2 separate regions of the Homo sapiens genome follow, and region 1 is linked to region 2. The links are contacts of gene promoters, found by promoter capture Hi-C in blood cells and fetal thymus (Javierre and others, 2016). All regions are on one chromosome and are shown on one strand. The core of a region is centred on a gene start or on the middle of the fragment in contact, and the rest is flanking DNA. Distances in the headings are between cores, read along the strand shown. Region 1 overlaps HTT (huntingtin). Region 2 holds the start of DOK7 (docking protein 7).

Region 1 (4,045 bases), core at 816-3,315, 270 kb before region 2:
AAACCTGAGAGCTTCCTCCTCCTGTGTTAAATTTGGAGGCCAAGATGTTTTTGTTACTTTTACAAATGATCAAGGACGGTGAAGGTTGGGCATGGTAGCTCACACCTGAAATCCCAGCACTTTGGGAGGCTGAGGCGGGGTGATCGCTTGAGCTTGAGACCAGCCTGGACAACATAGCAAGAGACCCCATCTCCACAAAAATAAAAAAATAAAAAAAAATAGCCAGGAGTAGTGGCATGAGCCTGAGCCCAGGAGGTCAAGCTGTAGTGAGCCATGATCATGCCACTGCACTCCAGCCTGGGCGAGATCGAGACCATGTCTCTAGAGAAAGAAAATGACAAGGACAGTGAACCCAAGAAAGTCATAAGATGCCAGCTGTGCAGCAAGCATGGAAAGCAGCCAGTCCAAATTAGGACAGTGTGTTTTCCAAGAAGAACGATCGTTTGTAATGAGAATGCTTTGCTTTAAATAAATGACTAAATAGCTAGAAGCCTAGTTCTAGGGGATAGGCACGTCTTTCTTCTCTCAAGAAAATAGAAAGGCAATTCTAATTTCTAGTAACAGCAAACAGCATTAAGTCATGGTCCAAATATGAGGCAAACCAAAATGTGGCTTGATTGTTCAGCAGTTGATCTGTTGGAAGCCCTTGATATTAAAAAGGTTCTCCTTTAAGCGGCTTAGGAGTCACGATCAAAGACCTATAGAAAGAGATGCCATCCTTCTAGGATCCTTGGCTCTCTTGGGAACTAGATTCAGATAGTCATAATGTAAATACTGCTTGAGCTTTCTTTCTTTCTTTCTTTCTTTCTTTTTTTTTTTGAGACAGAGTTTCACTCTTGTTGCCCATCCTGGAGTGCAATGGTGCCATCTCGGCTCACCGCAACCTCTGCCTCCCAGGTTCAAGCAATTCTCCTGCCTCAGCCTCCCGAGTAGCTGGGATTACGGGCATGCACCACCACGCCTGGCTAATTTTTTGTATTTTTAGTAGAGACAGGGTTTCTCCATGTTGAGGCTGGTCTCGAACTCCTGACCTCAGGTGATCCACCCGCCTCGGCCTCCCAAAGTGCTGGGATTACAGGTGTGAGCCACCGCACCCGGCCCGAGCTTTCATTTTTGAAATCAATGTATGACTGAAACACTGAAGACTTACTGACTTAATTATGGTTTCAGAACAGAATGAAAATGTCTTCGGTTCTGATGAATATAAAAGGAAAACTAACCAAGTTAATTTGGCAAGTAGATGGTAGAGATAGAGGTGGGGAGTGGAAGGGGAACTAAAATCTTCACCTAGCATTGTTGGGATTATATGGTTACATCATCTGAAGTTGACAGACCAAAATATAGAGGCTTCAGAGGTCTCCAAATAGAACTAAACATGTAATTCAGATTGTTAGGAGGTAGTATAAATGAGCTAAATCTCATCTTTATTACGGTAGAGTTAATGGGTGATGTCTAAAGTTGTCTGAAGTCTATAAATCATGACAAATTATGATGTGGTGATTGTATTCAACAGTCTTTCAGTTGCAGGGATAAAACCCCAGTTTAAACTAGAGTAAGAGAAAGAATGTGTTGGTTTAAGCTCCTGGAAAGTGCAGGCAAGGGTAGTTGGTAGGACTGCATCTAGTGTTGTAATTCTGTGGTCTGCATTGTATATTTATGCATCTCAGCTCTGCTTTCTTCTTTTCATTTATATAATTTTTAAATTTTATTTTAAAGATAGGGTCTCACTTTGTCGCCTAGGCTGAAGTGCAGTGGCATGAAGTGCAGTGCGAGGCTCACTCTAGCCTCGAACTCCTGGGCTCTAGAGTTCTTCCTGCCTCAGCCTTCTAAGTAGCTGAGACAATAGGCATGTACCAACATGCCTGGATAGGTTTTAAAATTTTTTTGTAGAAATGGAAGTCTTGCTGTGTTGCCCAGGCGGGTCTTTAACTCTTAGCTTCAGGCGATCCTCCTGCCTCTGCCTCCCAAAATGCTGAGGTTATAGGTGTCACCCACCACGCCCAGTCTCATCTCTGCTTCCTGTGTTAGTTTTGTTCTCTGGTGGGCTGTTTTCACATGACCGAAGATGACCTCTAGCAGGCTGTGTTCTCAGCCCCTCAAGTAGGCCTATGTGATTGGCCTTGCATGAGTAATATGGGTGACCATAAACCCCTGAATGCTCTGGTCCACATGGGCCAAATGGGAGACTGGACAGCATTCCATTGATGAGGAGGTGGGGCTGGTCTCCGGGAGTAAGGGAGAGGAGCACATGCAGTAACTGATGGTCTGCTGCAAGGGATAGCAGCACAGCAGTTAGAATTTTGGAGGTAACTACCAGAACTGAAAACAGAAATGATAACAAGTAGTTGCCTTAAAAAGGGATGGGAGCAGGGTGCTTTTGTGATCAAAGCTCCTTTCTCTTACTGGATTTTTGTACACATTTTGCATACATATCTTAGAGTAAAAGATAGCATTTTCAGCCTTGGTCCATTTGAGGATACTCTTGGCGTGGCCCGCCTCCATGCTAGCAGGCTCTGGTTGTGCCAAGTTCAGTTGAGCATCCTGGCTCTTGCCTGCACGGAACTTCCAGTCAGTGCGTCAGTATCACAAGTCTTGATATTTCCTATGAAGAAGAACAGTAGTGCAGTGACAGACGAAATGGGTGGGCAGGCAGAGGCAGGATTTCTGAGGGAGAGAAGTAGCTAGCTTTTTGCAGAGAAGAGTTCCGGCACCCAAGAGAGCAGCTGAGAGTACAGGCAGGCAGGCAGGATGCCGGTAGGGCCCGGCCGCACGGCGCCACAGAATCCTGGAGAAAGGGGCCTCTTCATGGCCTCTGCATTCAGCTGCTGTCACCCTCCGCACAGGCCATGGCCAAAATTTAATTTTCATAGTGGACTCTAGTTTTTGAGCCTTACTTGCTATTATTGAAATAATTTTCTTGTTTCTTTTTAAAGATCTTCGGATTATGCTTCACTGACCACTGTAATAAGTTTAAAGTTGAGAAAATATGGCTTGTTAATGAATGATAGGTCAATTTTAGTATGTTGGTCATTTTAATATTTTGCCACCAGTTGGTTTGGATTTGATGCCAGGAGGAGACAGCCTCATTTCTAAGGACTAGTCTTGCCTTTGTGGGATAAGGGTGGTGTGTTCTGTGTCCTTCTACATGTCCGAGCGATCTCTGTGCAGCTCAAATGTGGTCACTGTCTTATTGCGCTGATTTCCTCTCCTTCCATCTCACAATTGAGGCAAAATATTGTTACTGTTGAAGTGTTGTCCAATAGGACTTCCAGCAGAGACAGGATGTCTGCACTGTCTAATTTAGTTGCCTTTAGCCACATGTGGTGTTCTGTACCTGAAATGTGGCTGGTCTGATTGGATAGCTTAATTTATAATTTTATTTAATTTTAATTAACTTAAATTTAAACAGCTCTGTGTGGATAGTGGCTCCTGTATGAGACAGTGCAGGTCTGTTGAGAAGCAGCTTTACTGGTGGGAGTGGAGGGCTTGGAGAGGGCACGTGGGTTTCCTGCTGGTATCTTTTGACCTTATTTAATCTGCCCAACATTTGCAAGTAAGTTGTGTGTGTGTGTATATATAAATGTGTGTTTCTGTCTTCTTGTTTCCTTTGACTGCATTTATTTGAAAGACACTAGGTGGCAGAATTACTGTATTTGATTGGTTTCAAGATAAGAGTTGAAATAATTCATCTCGTGTTTTTATATAAGTAAGGTGTGTTTAGCATGTAAAATTGGTAATATGTATTCACGTACTGCTTAAACAAAGGCTATGAATTCCACCCATAAACCGAAAATGAAGACCTTTAAATTTGTCCATTTCAGGCGTGGGTACTTCTTAAATAATACCTGGTTCAGGAACTAGTCAGAATGGCACCCTTGACTTTTTGTTTCCTGCTTTTCCTCTTGTTGGGAGAGGAGGGTATTCATCCCAAAGTGGTTTGCCTATTTCACATTCCATCTAGGATAAGCAGAATAGCCAAGAAAGATAGCTGTCCTCCTGTTTACAACATTTGGGGTAACCAGCATCCCTCTCTTTTGGTCCAAGA
Region 2 (3,503 bases), core at 177-2,676:
GGCGGCTGGTGGCTGCACAGGTGACTGCGGGGGTGGGTGGGGGATGCAAAATTCTGCTTCCTGGGCCTGGTGTCCCCCGCCTTGCATGAGGCCCTGACAAGACATCACCGAAGCACCAAAGCCAACCCTTGTGGCCCACCGGAGACCTGTCTCTTGGATCACAGGGGCAGTGGGGAGGGGCGCCCAGGGCTCCCGATGCCTCTGAGCCCTGCTCTGAGGTCAGCCGATGTGGCTCAGTCCTGGCTGTGAGGCCTCACGCTGCCCTGATTCCATTTGCTCCTCAGTGCGAGGCAGACAGAGCCCAGCCTAGGGTCTGGATGGGATGAAATGAAGACGTCTCCTCCCTAACGGGACACTGTCTACCCCTTCCTTCTTCTCCCCCGAGAACCGTCAGCCCCGTGAGGATGGGGTCTAGGGTAGGGCATGTGGACGGAGCTTTGCTGTTTGTCCAGGTGCTTATCTTCTAGGGTGCCATCGCCCCTCCCCACTGCTGTTCCCGTATCTGCTGGGTGTCCCCAACCCCAGGGTGGTGGAGGCCGTCTCTCGGATGGGGCTGACACCCAAGGCACGGACCTGCCAGGTCCCCCAAAGCACATGGCCTCTCTGCAGAAGAACCTGGATGTGACATCTAATGCCCAGGCCAGAGCTTGGGGACAGCTGGACTGGAGCCACAGGGTCAAGGAGGGGGAGTCCAGAAGCGCAAAGTCCACCCAGCTGGGAGGGCTGCTGGCAGGTCCTTTACAAAGCAGGCAGCTCCTCTGCCCATCGGAGCCGGCTGGCCTAACCAGGGCCTGCTCTTGCCTGGGATGGGGGCAGAAGAGGTGGAGACCTGGGGCCCTGAGGCGGCACTGTGGGTCCTGGACCCGCCCACCTGCACTGGGGTCCCTGCAGGCTTTTAATGGGAACAGAAATGGAGGAAGAGACAGAGGCTGCCAGGGGCTCCCCGACCCCTACTGCCTGCCTGGGGAGGGGTCACCTCAGTGTGGGGGAAGCCTGGGGATGTGAGAGCATCCTAGGCCTGGGCTGCCTGTGGCCAGTCTGTTGTCCGGGTGTCTAGTGACCCCTGGGGTAGGGGCAGATGCCAGTCTGGGAAGCCGGATTGTTTGAAGACCAACTTTAAAGTTGGGAGCAGTGCCCAGAGCGGGGCCGATGTCTGCTAGGTGGTTGTCTCTGCTTTTTGAAAAAGAAGTCCCCGCCCGACCCCCGCCCCGCCAGGCGCTGGTCTGAGCGTCTGAGCCCAGATGGTGCGCTTGCTCCAGAGGGCGGGCGGCTCCAGTGGCCGCCGCGGGACGGTGGGGCCAGAGGGGCCCGTGGGGGTGGGGGAGCCGCCCGCAGGAGAAGGAGCCCCGCCCGCGCCGGCCCTGGAGTCGCCGGTGTCGCCGCCCTGCCCGCGGGCCCGCCCTCCTGGCCCAGCCCAGGGCCCTGCGAGCTATTTTGAAAGTGACCCTGGGCTGGGGCGCCGGGGCGAGCGCGGCGGCGCGGAACCATGACAGAAGATGACCGAGGCGGCGCTGGTGGAGGGCCAGGTCAAGCTGCGGGACGGCAAGAAGGTCGGGGCGCGTCGGGGGCGCGGGGGGGGGGGGCGCGGGCGCGGGCGGCGGCTCACGCTCCCCCCTGTCCCCGCAGTGGAAGAGTAGGTGGCTGGTGCTGCGGAAGCCGTCGCCCGTGGCAGGTGAGCGGGGCGGGCGGGGGACGGGGGGCGCGGGGGTAGCGACACGGGTTACCGAGGCCCGGGGCAGTAATGCCAGCTTGCCCAAAATCGCCGCCGCTGTCACCCCGCCGGGAAACCCGAGAGCCCCGTGCGGACCCGGACCCCCCGGCGCCCCTGGGAGCGCAGGTGGGGGCCCTGGACGGAAGAACCCTCTTTCCAGCAGGGCAGACTGAGGCCCGAGGGGCTGCCTGGTGGCCCTGTAGGCGGAGGGGACGCAGGCCCTGAGCCCCCCAGCAGAGCAGCAAGGGGCCCCCCAGAAGCAAAGCCCCACATACCTGAGGGTTGAGCTGTGCTTGTGGAAACGCTCAGAGCAGGGCCCCCGAACCCAGCCTCCAGGGGTGCTGCGTGGGTTAGCGCTGACCCTGGACCCCTCCCAGGCAGACGAGAGGCTGGGCTGCGGTAGGGCAGGGCAGAGTGACTGCCACATTGCTGGGGGAACAGTCCTCTGGGAGGAGGCAGGGGTCCCCCCCCAGTCCCCGCCCTGAGCCAGCACCCCAGCTTGGGGAGGGTCAGCATGGAGCCCCCAGGTCTGGCAGCCCAGGCCGCCTGCAGCGCTGGGCCTGTAGGGAGGGCTGAGCCGGGCCTGCAGCTGCTCCAGAGGACAGGTGCGGCAGAGCCGGCCAGGCCCGGGTCTGGGTGGGATGCTCGGCCTGTGTGCATGGGGGGCTGTACGCCAGGGGGCTGCCAGAGCACCCTCCAGGACGGGTGTCTGTGACTCCCAGGGAGGGTGTGGGGCAGGGATCCCTCCTGCGTCCCCTCTGCAGGGCCTCAGGTGGTCCTGGAGGAAAGCACTTCCTGCCTGCCTCCGCCTCCCCTTGCAGGGCCTGGACTGCACGCTGGTCACTTCTCCACTCAGCCCTCCGTGCCCAGACCTCCTGCCTGGAGCTGTGGGGGCACCGACAGAGCCTGGGAGGGCGTCTTTGTCCTCCGGGGCTGCAGGGGACCTGGTATAGGAAGGGATGGGGTCTGGGCAGAGTGAGAGGCCCTGCCAGGCTGGGGCGGATGACAGGCTTTAGTCAGCTGTGGCTGGGTCGGGGCCGTGGTGGGGCAGGTGATGCTTGGTGGATGGTGCTGGGCTGGAGCCGGTGCAGACCCTCCAGAGAGGCCGCATCCCAGGAAGGCACCCGGGACAGCAGCCCCCAAAGAGGAGTGTCGGGGGAGAAGTCTTTGTCCCTGTTGGAGGGATTTTCTTTCTGCATCAGACAGTCCCAGGAGGCAGGGCCTGCCAGCCTCAAGAGGGTGTGCTCCCCCGGCCGGTGAGTGCCTGAGTGGAGTGACAGGAGTTTGCAATGGGTCCCCCAGGTGGGACAATCTGTGAGTCTGTAGGTGAACATGGTGGCTCCCGAGCGTCTGCTGGGTTATCCCGTATCCTGCGCAGTTGAGATCTGCAGCCTTCTGGGGCTGGCGTGGGAGGTGATGTGGGGTAGTAGAAGGTGCCATGCCCCCTCTGGGTGGATGTTCATTCCAAGCCTTGAGGCCAGGTGTCCCTAGCACCCACTGACTCACTGGCCTGGGACCCATTGCTTTGGACACCTGCTTTCTGTGTTGGTCACTCCAGCAGCCCAGGGTTGAAACTGACACCCTGTGGGGTTGCCCAGAGGTCGGTCAGATGAGGGGATGGGACAGAGCGGAGTTCTCACGCCCACCTCCCCACCCTGACCAGGCCAGCCTGGCACCTCCTCTCCGCTCAGAGGCCCTGATGCCTCTTCCCCTGGCCCCTCATAAGCCTCCCTAGATGCTGCCCCCTTTGCCTTCACCCAGCTGCCTTCCCGCTCAGCGCTGGAGACCACCT

What was found. Contacts are between HindIII fragments. The CHiCAGO score rates a contact against its expected background, and 5 or more counts as called.
Region 1: a contact is called between a fragment that was not itself captured here and the fragment with the promoter of DOK7 in region 2, in 2 of 17 cell types (naive CD4 T cells and M0 macrophages). The highest score is 5.2, in naive CD4 T cells.

What each region holds. Positions count from the first base shown.
Region 1 is chr4:3,190,372-3,194,416 of GRCh38, forward strand. All of the region lies in intron 40 of HTT (huntingtin), which reads left to right. Among named protein-coding and RNA genes, the nearest start is that of MSANTD1, 57 kb to the right of the region's middle. The HindIII fragment of the contact is 7,428 bases long and covers 1-4,045 here.
Region 2 is chr4:3,461,880-3,465,382 of GRCh38, forward strand. DOK7 (docking protein 7) reads left to right here and starts at 1,427. Exons shown (of 7, transcript NM_173660.5): 1 at 1,427-1,550; 2 at 1,627-1,672. The coding sequence starts at 1,497. RefSeq lists an enhancer at 205-1,052. The HindIII fragment of the contact is 8,339 bases long and covers 1-3,503 here.